Linked DNA regions of Homo sapiens: region 2 is linked to region 1. The links are contacts of gene promoters, found by promoter capture Hi-C in human tissues and cell types (Jung and others, 2019). All regions are on one chromosome and are shown on one strand. The core of a region is centred on a gene start or on the middle of the fragment in contact, and the rest is flanking DNA. Distances in the headings are between cores, read along the strand shown.

Region 1 (6,354 bases), core at 1,745-4,244:
CTCCCGAGTAGCTGCAATTACAGGGGTGCACCACCACGCCCAGCTAATTTTTTTTATTTTTAGTAGAGACAGGTTTCGCCATGTTGGCCAGGCTGGTCTCGAACTCCTGACCTCAGGTGATCCGCCTGCCTTGGACTCCCAAAGTGCTGGGATTACAGGCGTGAGCCACTGCGTCTAGCTTGGTGTGGGTTCTTATGTTGGATCCTGTGGATCTCTGGGAGGGCATGAATGGACTTCAGAGGTCTGTAAGCCTGTCTCCACCTCCAGTTATGCATATGTGCATATCTGCTTTTCTCTGGGGAAGGAGTCCATTGAAGTTTTATTTATCTTTTTGTTTTTCATTTTTTTTCTTGAGACGGAATTTCACTCCTGTTGCCCAGTCTGGAGTGCAGTGGTGTGATCTTGGCTCACTGCAACTTCTGCCTCCCGGGTTCAAGCGATTCTCCTGCCTCAGCCTCCCAAGTAGCTGGGATTACAGGGGCGCACCACCATGCTCAGCTAATTTTTGTATTTTTAGTAGAGATGGGGTTTCACCATGTTGGCTAGGCTGGTCTCGAACTCCTGACCTCAAGTGATCCACCTACTTCAGCCTCCCAAAGTGTTGAGATTACAGGCGTGAGCCACCATGCCTGCCCTGAAGTTTCATTTAGTTCTCATGAGGGCTCCTGGCCCCAGAAGAGAAGAAGCCCGCATCTAAGCTACAGTGTTACTGTTTTACACCAGCCCCTCACCCAGGGAGCCCTCTGGCCTTCTGTCCCCAACCACCCTGCTATCACCTTATACCTTACTCCCCCCACCCTCTCTGTTCCCACTCTTCACCCCATGACCTCCACTCACTGCCACCTGCACTGTTACCTTCTTTCCGAATATCTGTCCTTGCTCCCACACGCCTTCCCTCTGCAACACGCCTTTGCAGTGCCTTTGGCCTCTACTGCTGCACCCTGTACTCTTCCCTTCGCCCTCTGTGACTCCCCTCAAGCCCCTCCTCCGTGTCCTACCTTCCCTGGGACAGTGCCTTGCCTACCTTGTTCCTGGCTCTCTTCATTGGTGACCTGTGGTTATGACAAAAAAGTTGAGGATGTGGGAGTAGGGGAGAGAAGAGTGGAGGGCGGAAAGCAGAAGAAGAAAGTGAAAGAAGCTCTAGAGGAAACCACAGGGCCTGTGGGGAAGGAGGGTCATTGCCGTGGTAACCCCTGGTTGTGGGGGAAGGGTATAGGTCCTGGCTATCCCATAGCCTGAGGCCAGCCAAGCCCACCCAGAGAAAGAGCCCCTCCTCTCCAATTGTCCCCTCCTAGCAGCTACACCTCTGCAATCCATCTGACATTTATTGAGCACCTACTATAAGATGGGCACTTGGCTAGGTGTGGTGGCTCCAGCAGGGAAGCCTTGTAGAGCCAGTCCCTGCCTACAAGGAGTGCTCCTTCTGGTAGGGGAGATCGACCTGTGAACACAGACCTCATGTCTAGTTCCCTCTCAAAGCTCTTAGTGATCTGTATGGGCCAGGAGCAAATCCCATTAATATTTTCCTGCTCTCCCTACGGGCTTCATCCTTGCCTTGGCTTCAGCTGTTGTTCCTGCACTCTCTGCTTCTCCCAGTTCACCTCCTCCACCCCTTTCCCAGGATCCACTACTGTGTTGGCTCCTGGTTCCCCAATCACATGCTCTGAGCCTGGCCCTATGCCTCTCTCTTCCAAGTTTCCAGTTGTGTGGACCTTGAATTTCTCAAAGCCTCTTCACTTCTCACCTCTGCTACTTCTCATCCCTACTAATTCTCTTATCAAGCCCTTACTTAGTATGTGCCAGGTAGTCTTGTAGGCAATTGATATGAATTATCTCTTTTAATTCTCACGACAATCCTGTGAGTCTTGCTGGACAGATGAGAAAACAGCTGCAGGCAGGTTTAAGTAACTCAGCTAAGCTCCTTACTACTAGTAAGTAGTAGAGCCAGGATTTGAACTCTAGCAACTTGGCTCCAGAGCCTATGTAGTCAAGCACACTTATATAATGTATCCTGGGTTTTCAAAATGAACAAGTCTGTAATTTCTGGCCTCTCTACAGTACTTACTGCCCCTATTCCCTCCTATCATGTTCCTTCCTATATAAGTAAATGGAGAGATCATGAATTTTGGAGGCAGGCAGACCTGGATTTAAATCCCAGACCAGCCGAGTGTGCCTGTAATCCCAGCTACTCAGGAGGCCAAAGTGGGAGGATTGCTTGAGTCCAGGAGTTACAGACCAGCCTGGGCAACACAGCAAGACCCTGTCTCAAAAATAAAAAACAGGCTGGGCATGGTGGCCCACACCTGTAATCCCAGCACTTTGGGAGGCCGAGGTGGGCAGATCAATTGAGGTCAAGAGTTTGAGACCAGCCTGGCCAACATGGTGAAACCCCGTCTCTATTAAGAATATAAAACGTTGCTGGGCATGGTAGTGCACCCCTGTAATCCCAGCTATTCGGGAGGCTGAGGCAGGAGAATCGCTTGAACCTGGGAGGCGGAGTTTGCAGTGAGCTGAGATTGTGCCATGGGACAGTGAGCTGAGATTGTGCCTGGGAAACAGAGCAAGACCCTGTCTCAAAAGTTAAATTAAATTAAAATAAAAAAAATAAAATAATAAAAATTTAAAATAAAAATCTTTTTTCTTTTTTTTTTTTAAATCCTAGACTAGCTACTTACTAGCTGTGGGACCTTGGGCAAAATTCTTTATTTCCTGCTTCCAAGCCTCAATCTCTGCATCTGTAAAATTGGGGCTTGGGGGAATATTAACCCCTATCTTATGAGATTGTTGTGAGGGTTAATTGTAATATGTTACGTTCAACACATGACAGGGGTTCAATAAATGGGCTTCTTTCTTCCAGATCTCTGTATTGTCCACTCCCTTGGCTCAGCCCCACCCCTATCTGCACCACCTTCTAGATCAGTCACCCCCACCAACCCCAAATCTTCCCCACCCTGGGGAGTGTCACTTCCTCCTCTGCCGTCTCCCAGATCAGTACACAAAGGCTGCTGCTGCCGCCAGAGGAAGGACTGCTCTGCACGCACCTGTGAGTACCAGGGCACCAGCCCTTCTGCCTCCTCTCCTTACAAGCTCTGGCCCACCTGGTCCCAACCTCTTGGGAAGAGGGCTCTGACCTGGATACCGAGGGTCCTGTCCAGACTTGAGAAAGGCTCTGAACTCCTTTCTGCATTCCTAAGATCCCCTGACCTGGTTCCCTCCTCCAGTTTCACAGTACCCCCACCTCCACCTCTCCAAAAGCCCAATCTCTCCTGCATCAGTTTCCCATGAGTGGGTCTGGAGGCAGGGATGTATATGAGTGCTGTCATCTGAGTGCCTGCCATGTGCCAAGGACTATACCGAAGTAGGGCAGGTATACCGATTATACTGAGGGAGGGTTCTTCCAACATCACCCCCAGCTGCTATCCCTAATGCTCTGCCTTCAGCTCAGACTTCTTCCTAATCGGCACCTTGGTCACAGACTCCACTGTCCTGGGACACTGAGGCCCAGCAGCTCAGTTCCGTCCCCTCCTTGTGACTCCCAGTGGGCAGCAGAGGGTTCTGCTTGATTTGGAAGGTAGGGATGGGTTTGGAAGAGGCTCTGTTTCTCAGCTGCTGAGGGGGGTCACAGGGTGTGTACTGGAGTCAGAATGGAGTCCAGAAAAATGGAAATAACCACTTGGTCCCAGAGAGAGAAGGGAAGACTGCAGAATACCCCTAAGGAAAGAGAAATGGGATTAGGCAGAGCCCACCAGGGCTAGTGGGGAGAGAACACAACTTTTGATGGAGATAGTGCCTGGGTTGGAGGGAGGAAAGGAGAAAGCACAGCAGAGGCCTGGCCCTGCCCTGTCCTGCCCTGCCCCTAGTTCACTGGGTGACCCTGGCCTCATGGAATTTAGGTTTCCATTTGTAAAAAGAGTGGGATGGAGTAGTAGATTCAGCCATTCTATAGTTAGGAACAGAGGGGAAAAGGAAGTAAAATAGCCCTATGAAGAAGTGGAGCAGAGAAAAGCAGCAGAGAGATGCAATAGAAGTTTTGAAATGAAAGGAGCCAGAGAGAGACAGAGAAGCAGACAGAGAAATAGGTGGCAGAACATGTATTCTCAAGGAGGGGAGAAGAGAGGATAATTGGAAAGAAAGGTAGGAAAGGGCTGTCCAGGAAGTCCCAGGGCCCCCTTTAAGGGGAGATGAGTGGGCCTAAGGTCTCTGAAAAACCTATGCGGCAGCCGGGGCTCCACTTGTGAGAGATGAGTCAAAACCCGGCTTTGGGTTGCAGCATCTCCAGCCTCCCTGACCACAGGCATGCAGAGCAAGCAGGGCTGAGGTTACGCTGAGGCTGAGCTGGGACTGGCCTCTCCCCGAGGGGTGGAGGCTCCGTTATATATGGCGCCTGAGGTCACAGGTGGTGGGGAGCAGGACCAGGACATTCAAGGACTCAACACCCCACCCCTTTCCCACACTCTGTGCAGAGTATCTGGACCTGACTCTGGGCCCAGGCTGAAGAAGATGCAAATGGTTTATGACAAGGAGTTAGTTGGCCTTTCTCATACATTGCTGATGGGAATGTGGACCAGTACAAGTCCTGAAGAGTTTATGTTGGCAATACCCACCTATATATATATATTTCTTAGCATGAGAATGTAGATGAAATACACACCAGTATTACAAATGATACCTATCTAGTTATCCTGCACGTCCTCTGCTAGGGATTTATCCTACAGATTCAGTTGCAGACGTGTGAAATGATAAATACATGACATTTGGCTGGGGGTGATGGCTCACGCCTGTAATCACGGCAATTTGGGAGGCCGAGGCAGGTGGGTCGCTTGAGCTCAGGAGTTCTAGACCAGCCTGGGCAACATGGGGAAGCCCCATCTCTGCAAAATAATACAAAAATAATTAGCCAGACATGGTAGCATGCGCCTGTAGTACCAGCTACTCGGGAGGCTGAGGTGGAAGGATCAATTGAGCCGGCAAGGTCAAGGCAGCAGTGAGCCATGATTGCACCAGTACACTACAGCCGGGTGACAGAGCAAGACCCTATCTCTCAAATGAATAAATAAATAAATACATACATTACTTTTCATTTCAGCATTATTTGTCATAGGGAACTAGAAACAATTTAAGGCCAGGCACAGTGGCTCATGCCTGTAATTCCAGCACTTTGGGAGGCCGAGGTGGGTGGATCACTTGAAGTCAGGGGTTCGAGACCAGCCTGGCCAACATAGTGAAACTCTGTCTCTACTAAAAACACAAAAATTAGCTGGGTGTGGTGGCTCACACCTGTAATCCCAGCTACTCAGGAGGATGAGGCACACGACTCACTTGAACCCAGGAGGCAGAGGTTGTACATCACGCCACTGCATTCCAGCCTGGTCGACAGAGTGGGACTCTGCCAAAAAAAAAAAAAAAAAAAAGGTAAAGAAAAAAGAAACAAAGATAGTAGTAAATGATATTTATTTAGGGTAGGTGTGGGAACTGGGTATGGCATATGGAGTAGGAGATTTCTCACCATCTTATTTAACTTTTTGATTTTTAAAATGGTAAGATACACAAACATTTATCATTTTTACCCCTTTTAAGTGTACAATTCAGTGGCATTAAGTACATTCACTAATTCCAGAACTTATTCATCACCCTAAAATGAAACTGCCCATTAAGCAGTCATTCCCCACTTCCCCTTCTCCCAAGCTCTGGTAACCACTAATCTACCTTCTGTCTCTGTGGATTTTTCTAGTTTGGATATGTTCCATATGTGGAATCATACAATATGTGACCTTTCATGAATGGTTTTGTTCACTGAGCATGTTTTCAAGGTTCATCCATGTTGTAGCATGTATGTATCAGTACTTCATTTTTTTTTTTTTTTTGAGACCGAGTTTTGCTCTTGTTGCCCAGGCTGGAATGAAATGGCACAATCTCGGCTCACTGCAACCTCCGCCTCCTGGGTTCAAGCGATTTTCCTGCCTCAGCCTCCCAAGTAGCTAGGGTTACAGGAGACCACCACCATGCCTGGATAATTTTTGTATTTTTAGTAGATATGGGGTTTCACCATGTTGGTATGGCTGGTTTTGAACTCCTGATCTCAAGTGATCCACCCGCCTCGGCCTCCCAAAGTGCTGGGATTACAGTCGTGAGCCACTGTGCCCAGACCCATTTCATTGCTTTTTATGGCCAAATAACGTTCTGCTGTATGGATATACCACCTTTTCTTTATCCATTCATCAGTTGATGGACATCTGGGTTCTTTCTACCTTTTAGCTATTGTGAGTAGTGCTGCTGTGAACATTTCTGTACCAGTTTTTGTTTGAACACCTGTTTTCAATTCTTCTGAGTATATACCTAAGAGTGAAATTGCCA
Region 2 (5,785 bases), core at 361-2,860, 360 kb before region 1:
GAAACTGAGATGACCAGGACTTTGGCTAAGTATATCTATACCTATGATGAGGTTGTATTTCTCAATCCCATCAAATAATAAGTAACATTTGAAAAAAAAAAACTAATCTTTTTTAACCCAAACTGGTAAGAAATTATATTTACCACCCTCTTTCCTACATTGCCCAATCCCTGATGGAGTTGGCCTAAATGACCTTTGGAGCTCAGTTTCCTTTTTGCTGTGATTTATTGGGCACCTGCAACTTACTTGGCAGAAGACTTGACCCATGGGGCTCATGAATTTTCACATTTGTCAGGAGGAAGGAACAAGGAACCAAAATAGAAGCAAGTATTGCAGTATGGCTGAGGGCTTAAAACTTAGGTACTTAGAGGAATAGTTATACCATTGGTCTGTATAATGTAAAACAGAGGTGTACAATCTTTTGGCTTCCCTGGGCCACATTGGAAGAAGAATTGTCTTGGGCCACACATAAAAATATACTAACGCCAACAATAGCTGATGAACTAAACAAAAAAAAAATCGCCAAAAAATCTGATAATGTTTTAAGAAAGCTTACGAATTTATGTTGGGCCATGTTGAAAGCCATTCCGGGCTGCATGTGGTCTGCAGGCCAAAGGTTGGACAAGTTTGATGTAGAATAATAATGCATTGCTATTAAACCCAGATCATAACGATGAAGACCCAACAACTCAGTGTTGACTATGGGTTTAAAATTCTTTTTCTGTTCCCCTCTAACTAGCTTGTTGATTTAATTGTAACATACTTTTCCTTTTGTCAGATACTGGAGTGTACGATTTTTTAAAGGAGGAATCCAGTTCTTGACACTGTTTGACACCTATGAGATGCTCATATGCTCATATTCTGCCTGTAAAATTCAAATAATTGAGATCTTAAAAGAAAATGCTCAAAAGGATGTGGTTAAAATTACCACTAGTGGTTTGGGGATTGAAGAAGGAACTTAAAAGGGAATGGCTTGTAAATTCACATTTTTTTGCACAAGGTATTTTAGTTGAGTTTAGTTTATATTTTGAAACAGAGTCTTGCTCTGTCGCCCAGGCTGGAATGCAGTTGTGTGATCTCAGCTCACTGCACCCTCCACTTCCTGGGTTCAGGTGATTCTTGTGCCTCAGCCACCCAAGTAACTGGGATTATCAGGCATGCACCACCATGTCCAGCTAATTTTTATATTTTTAGTAGAGACAGGGTTTTGCCATGTTGGCCAGGCTGGTCTCAAACGCCTAGCCTCAAGTGATCTGCCCACCTCAGCCTCCCAAAGTGCTGGATTACAGGCATAAGCCACTGTATCTGGCCTCACAGGACATTTTAATTGGTAATAAAATTCAGTGCTGGAATCAGATACCCTAAGAAAGTGAATTGACCCACAAAGACCATGGCACCAGTGTCCTTTCATACAACAGCAGTATAACTCTAGCATACTGTAATTGTCTTAGGTGCCTTTCTGTAATAAAGGGAATCTGGTATCAAAAAAAGTAGGCAAGAGGATACACTAATTCTCACTGATTTGAACAGTGAAATTTACTTTGCAAATGGAGTTGGAAAGCCATCAGATCTTTCTGAAAGTGTGCCATGTTAAGGTCTGAGAATCCAAGAGTGATAAAGCTTTTCAACAGTTACTCTTATGTCACTATATAAAACTTTACCCAATCACTGAAGCAATAATTTATTGAGTGCCAAACTGGGCAAGCCCAGAGGTGGGGCAGGTGAAAAGGATAAAAAATAAGTGTGAGACATGTTTTTAACCCTCTAGTAGTTTACAGTCTACTTTGTTTGAGACATCCTTGTTCTGTTGCCCAGGCTGGAGTGCGATGGCACAATCTTGGCTCACTGCAACCTCTGCCTCCAGTTCAAGTGATCCCTCCCACCTCAGCCTTCCTAGTTGGGACTACAGGCACACACCACCACACCTGGCTAATTTTTTTTTTTTCTTTTCGGTAGAGGTGGGGTTTCACCTTGTTGCCCAGACTGGTCTCAAACTCTTGGGGTCAAGCAATTCTCCCGCCTCAGCCTCCCAGAGTGCTGGGATTACAGGTGTGAGCCACTGCGCCTGCCCATACAGTCTACTTTAAAAAGATAAAAATTGTGAGACCATATAGACTAAAATTCTATATGTATAATTATATAAATAAATTTCCATTTGAATACTATACAAGTTCAAGAAAGATAGATCACTGAAGATTGGAGTCATTAGAGAAGCTTTCAAAAAGCTATTGGATTTCAGCTGGGCCTAGAAAAATGGTAGTATTCCAGTAAACAATGGAGAGAGGAACACATTTCAAGGAATATGGGAATGTGTGTGGAGGCACAAAATTGAAAATAAATAGACTTCGCAGATCAGTAAGAGACTGACCTGGGTAGAAAGTGTTAGTAGAAGAATAGCAGAAAATAAAATCATAAACAAGGACAAGAGGACAGAAAGGTAATGTATTTTACATTCCTTTAAAATCTCCTTTGGGAATGATTTCAAACCCACCCCACCCCCAAGAGTCAAATCCTTCCTAATGATTTAAATCCCCATTGCTGCCATTTTGTCTTTTTCCTGTGGTTACAATTTTTGAAATTCTATTTGTTTCTTACTCTGATCTTCTTGCATCCTTGCATTAGGGTATTCTTGGTCCTGACTGGGCCCAGCCTCTGGTTCCGTAGGAAAAAGCTGGTGTTTAAGATAGATACCAACTCTCCTTTTGGATATGGATGATGAAAATTGTCCCACCATTGCACACATGGGCAAAAAAAAATTTTTTTTTTTTTGAGATGAAGTTTCGCTCTTGTCCCCCAGGCTGGAGTGCAGTGGCACAATCTCGGCTCACCGGCCTTCTGGGTTCAAGTGATTCTCCTGCCTCAGCCTCCCGAGTAGCTGGGATTACAGGTGCGTACCACCACACCCAGCTAATTTTTTGTATTTTTTAAGTAGAGACGGGGTTTCACCATGTTGGCCAGGCTGGTCTTGAATTCCTGACCTCAGGTGATCTGCCCGCCTCGGCCTCTCAAAGTGCTGGGATTACAGGCGTGAGCCACCGTGCCCGGCCTACATGGGCAAAAGTTTTGTAGGTTGGGGTTGCTTTGTAGCACTTTAGTGAGACGTGCTAGTTGGCATTTATTCAACAAATATTAAGCACCTACTGTGTACAGATACCGTTCTAGGTGCTTGGGATTTGTCCATGAACAAGCAAATGGAGAGATCCTTGTTCTTGAGGAGCTTACATTGTAGCAGCAGCATGGCAGCTAGACCAACTATCAAATAATATCTCTGCTTTCAAAATTCCTTTTCTTTATACAGTGGACTTATTTGTTAAGCTGCCAGAATCTTTAAGATATTCCAACAGCCTTCCCAAAACAGAAAATTCCTCAATCCATAGACAAATGAATTTACCTTAGGTACAGTTTGGTGGGTTGTCCCCGCTCCTCTGTTTAGTTTGTCCTCCTTCATTCCCCTGACAACATTTTATCTTTGAGTATTTTGGGGGAAAGTTTTCTGTTCTTGTTTTTCCTCTATAAATTATGTCGCTCACACATGCAGCATATGAGCTACTGTTGCTGTGGTTGTATTTTATTTGTTGAACAATCCTGTACTTTGAAATGATTCATTTAAGAGCCATGAAACATTCAAAGCAGGATGTGTGACTCACATAGCAAACAGTAGCATCTTTTTTTTCCTTTTATTTATTTATTTCCCATCATTGGCTAAACATCTTGAAGTAGAGAGCAGGAGCCTAGGATTGACCAAGGTAGAAATGAAAGTTATGTTTGGTTTGAAGTATGTGTGTATTTAATCCCTTCCTTCTTCTCCCTTTCCCTGCTTTCCCAAACTTAAATGATGTCTGACATTGGGAACAGAAGCACTGCAGTGAGGGCAAGAAGCCTTGTCAAGACTTTTACAGATCTTCCAGTTTCTTCTTTCAGAATATGTGATCACTTGAAGTGATTAATTAAATAGTGTTCAAAAAAAAGATCAGTTATTTCTTCCTTCACCTGCTCAGCACCAGCATCACTATTCTAGAACTTACTCCTCATAGTTTTTCTCAAGTTTTCTATGACTTTTTTTTTTTTTTTTTTTAAAGAGACAGTCTTACTCTGTTGACCAGGCTGGAGTGCAGTGGTGCTGTCTTCTGTGACTTTTTCATACTATTTCCTTTCATCAAAATACGCCCCCAAGTATATGGGTGCAGATAAACCCAGCTCTTTGGAAGGCTGAGGTGGGATGATCACTTGAGGCCAAGAGTTTGCAGTCAGCCTGGGCAACATAGCAACACCCCATCTCTAAAGTAAACAAAACAATAGCCCATGGTGGTGCGAACCTGTAGTCCCAGCTACTTGGTAGGCTGAGGTGGGAAGATTGCTTGAGTCTAAGAGTTTGAGGTTACAGTGATCTAAGATCACATCACTGCACTCCAGCCTGAGCTACAGAGTGAGACCCTGTGTAAAAAAAAAAAAAAAAGAAAGAAAAGAAAAAACCAAGCCCAAGTATAGATACTGAATTAAAAGAAAGCAATTCTGTCCATGAAGTACTGCCAAACCCAGAAACTTTGGAGAAAAGGGGTAGTTAGGTTTCAGCATAAATTACTTTTCAGACTATCACAAATGTAAACTCAGTTCCTTGTATTATTTCTTGATAGTTTACACACTCAGGGCTCATTTCCTAATAACTAAAGAGTTCTGATTGTCTTCTTACCCCAGTCTACTCTTCTAAAACAAGGAAAGGGACATGAATTCATCATAGGTCAGGATATTAAGAGCGTTTTTAAATGTGAGGCAAATCCTCATGAAAACGGGTGCTGTGGTGGCCAAAAGCAACATTTCAGGAATGTATCTGGCTAGGAGTTGAGTGCATATTGCAGAGAAATTTCATTGGTCACAATGCTTTACCAAGGAGTTAGCTTGAAACTGTTAGATTCCTAATCCCCGTATGCTTGTGCCTGGCTCAGAGTCAAAAGCCAAAAATTTAGTTTTAGTTTGGCCTTACGTCTCATTTGCTCTGAGCCTTCTTTTCGGGTCTGTTCAGTGCTGCTATTTCAAAATACGTCTAGAGAATAGGTTAAATGAGGTTAGGAAAAGAACTGCAGTATCTCTAGGCATTTACTTGTTTAGAATTATCCTGCAAAAAAAAAAAGTCACTTTTTTACTATAATACCTGTCTCTCTTGAAATTTAAAAAAGTAAAGAGGAGGCCGGGTGCGGTGGCTCATGCCTGTAATCCCAGCACTTTAGGAGGCCAAGGCGGGTGGATCATGAGGTCAGGAGTTCAAGACCAACCTGGCCAACATGGTGAAACCCTGTCTCTACTAAAAACACAAAAAATTAGCCGGGTGTGGTGGCAGGTGCCTGTAATTCCAGCTACTTGGGAGGCTGAGGCAGAAGAATCACTTGAACCCAGGAGGCGGAGGTTGCGGTGAGCCGAGATCACACCATTGCACTCCAGCCTGGGCAACAAGAGCGAAACTCCATCTCAATAAATAAATAAGTAAAATTTTAAAAAAGTAAAGAGGAGGGAACTAGTTGAATATGTGCTGTGTCCAAGGTACTGTACTGTTTTATATAATTATTTCACTTAAAAGCTTAAGAAAACAGGAATATATGGGAGGCTTCAGTGATGTCTGAAATGTTTCATGCCTTGAACTGGGTAGTGATTACACAGGTTTATGCAAATTTAAAAATTAAAAATTCATTGAGATGTACACTAAGGATTTTTGCTTTTTTTTTTTTTTTTTTGAGATGGAGTCTCACTCTGTCACCCAGGCTGGAGTGCAGTGGCATGATCTTGGCTCACT

What was found. The method cuts DNA at HindIII sites, captures the fragments that hold promoters and counts their contacts. A contact is called where the count stands out against the background at its distance.
Region 2: a fragment that was not itself captured here is called in contact with the fragment with the promoter of ITGB7 in region 1 in 1 of the 25 tissues and cell types used here (heart left ventricle).

What each region holds. Positions count from the first base shown.
Region 1 is chr12:53,203,891-53,210,244 of GRCh38, reverse strand. It overlaps ITGB7 (integrin subunit beta 7), which reads left to right and starts at 2,994. Exons shown (of 16, transcript NM_000889.3): 1 at 2,994-3,043. RefSeq lists an enhancer at 4,865-4,954. The HindIII fragment of the contact is 22,503 bases long and covers 1-6,354 here.
Region 2 is chr12:53,559,620-53,565,404 of GRCh38, reverse strand. The region is part of intron 2 of ATF7-NPFF (ATF7-NPFF readthrough); the gene reads left to right. All of the region lies in intron 2 of ATF7 (activating transcription factor 7), which reads left to right. The region is part of intron 2 of LOC124902937 (a long non-coding RNA gene); the gene reads right to left. Among named protein-coding and RNA genes, the nearest start is that of ATF7-AS1, 49 kb to the right of the region's middle. The HindIII fragment of the contact is 4,567 bases long and covers 1-3,893 here.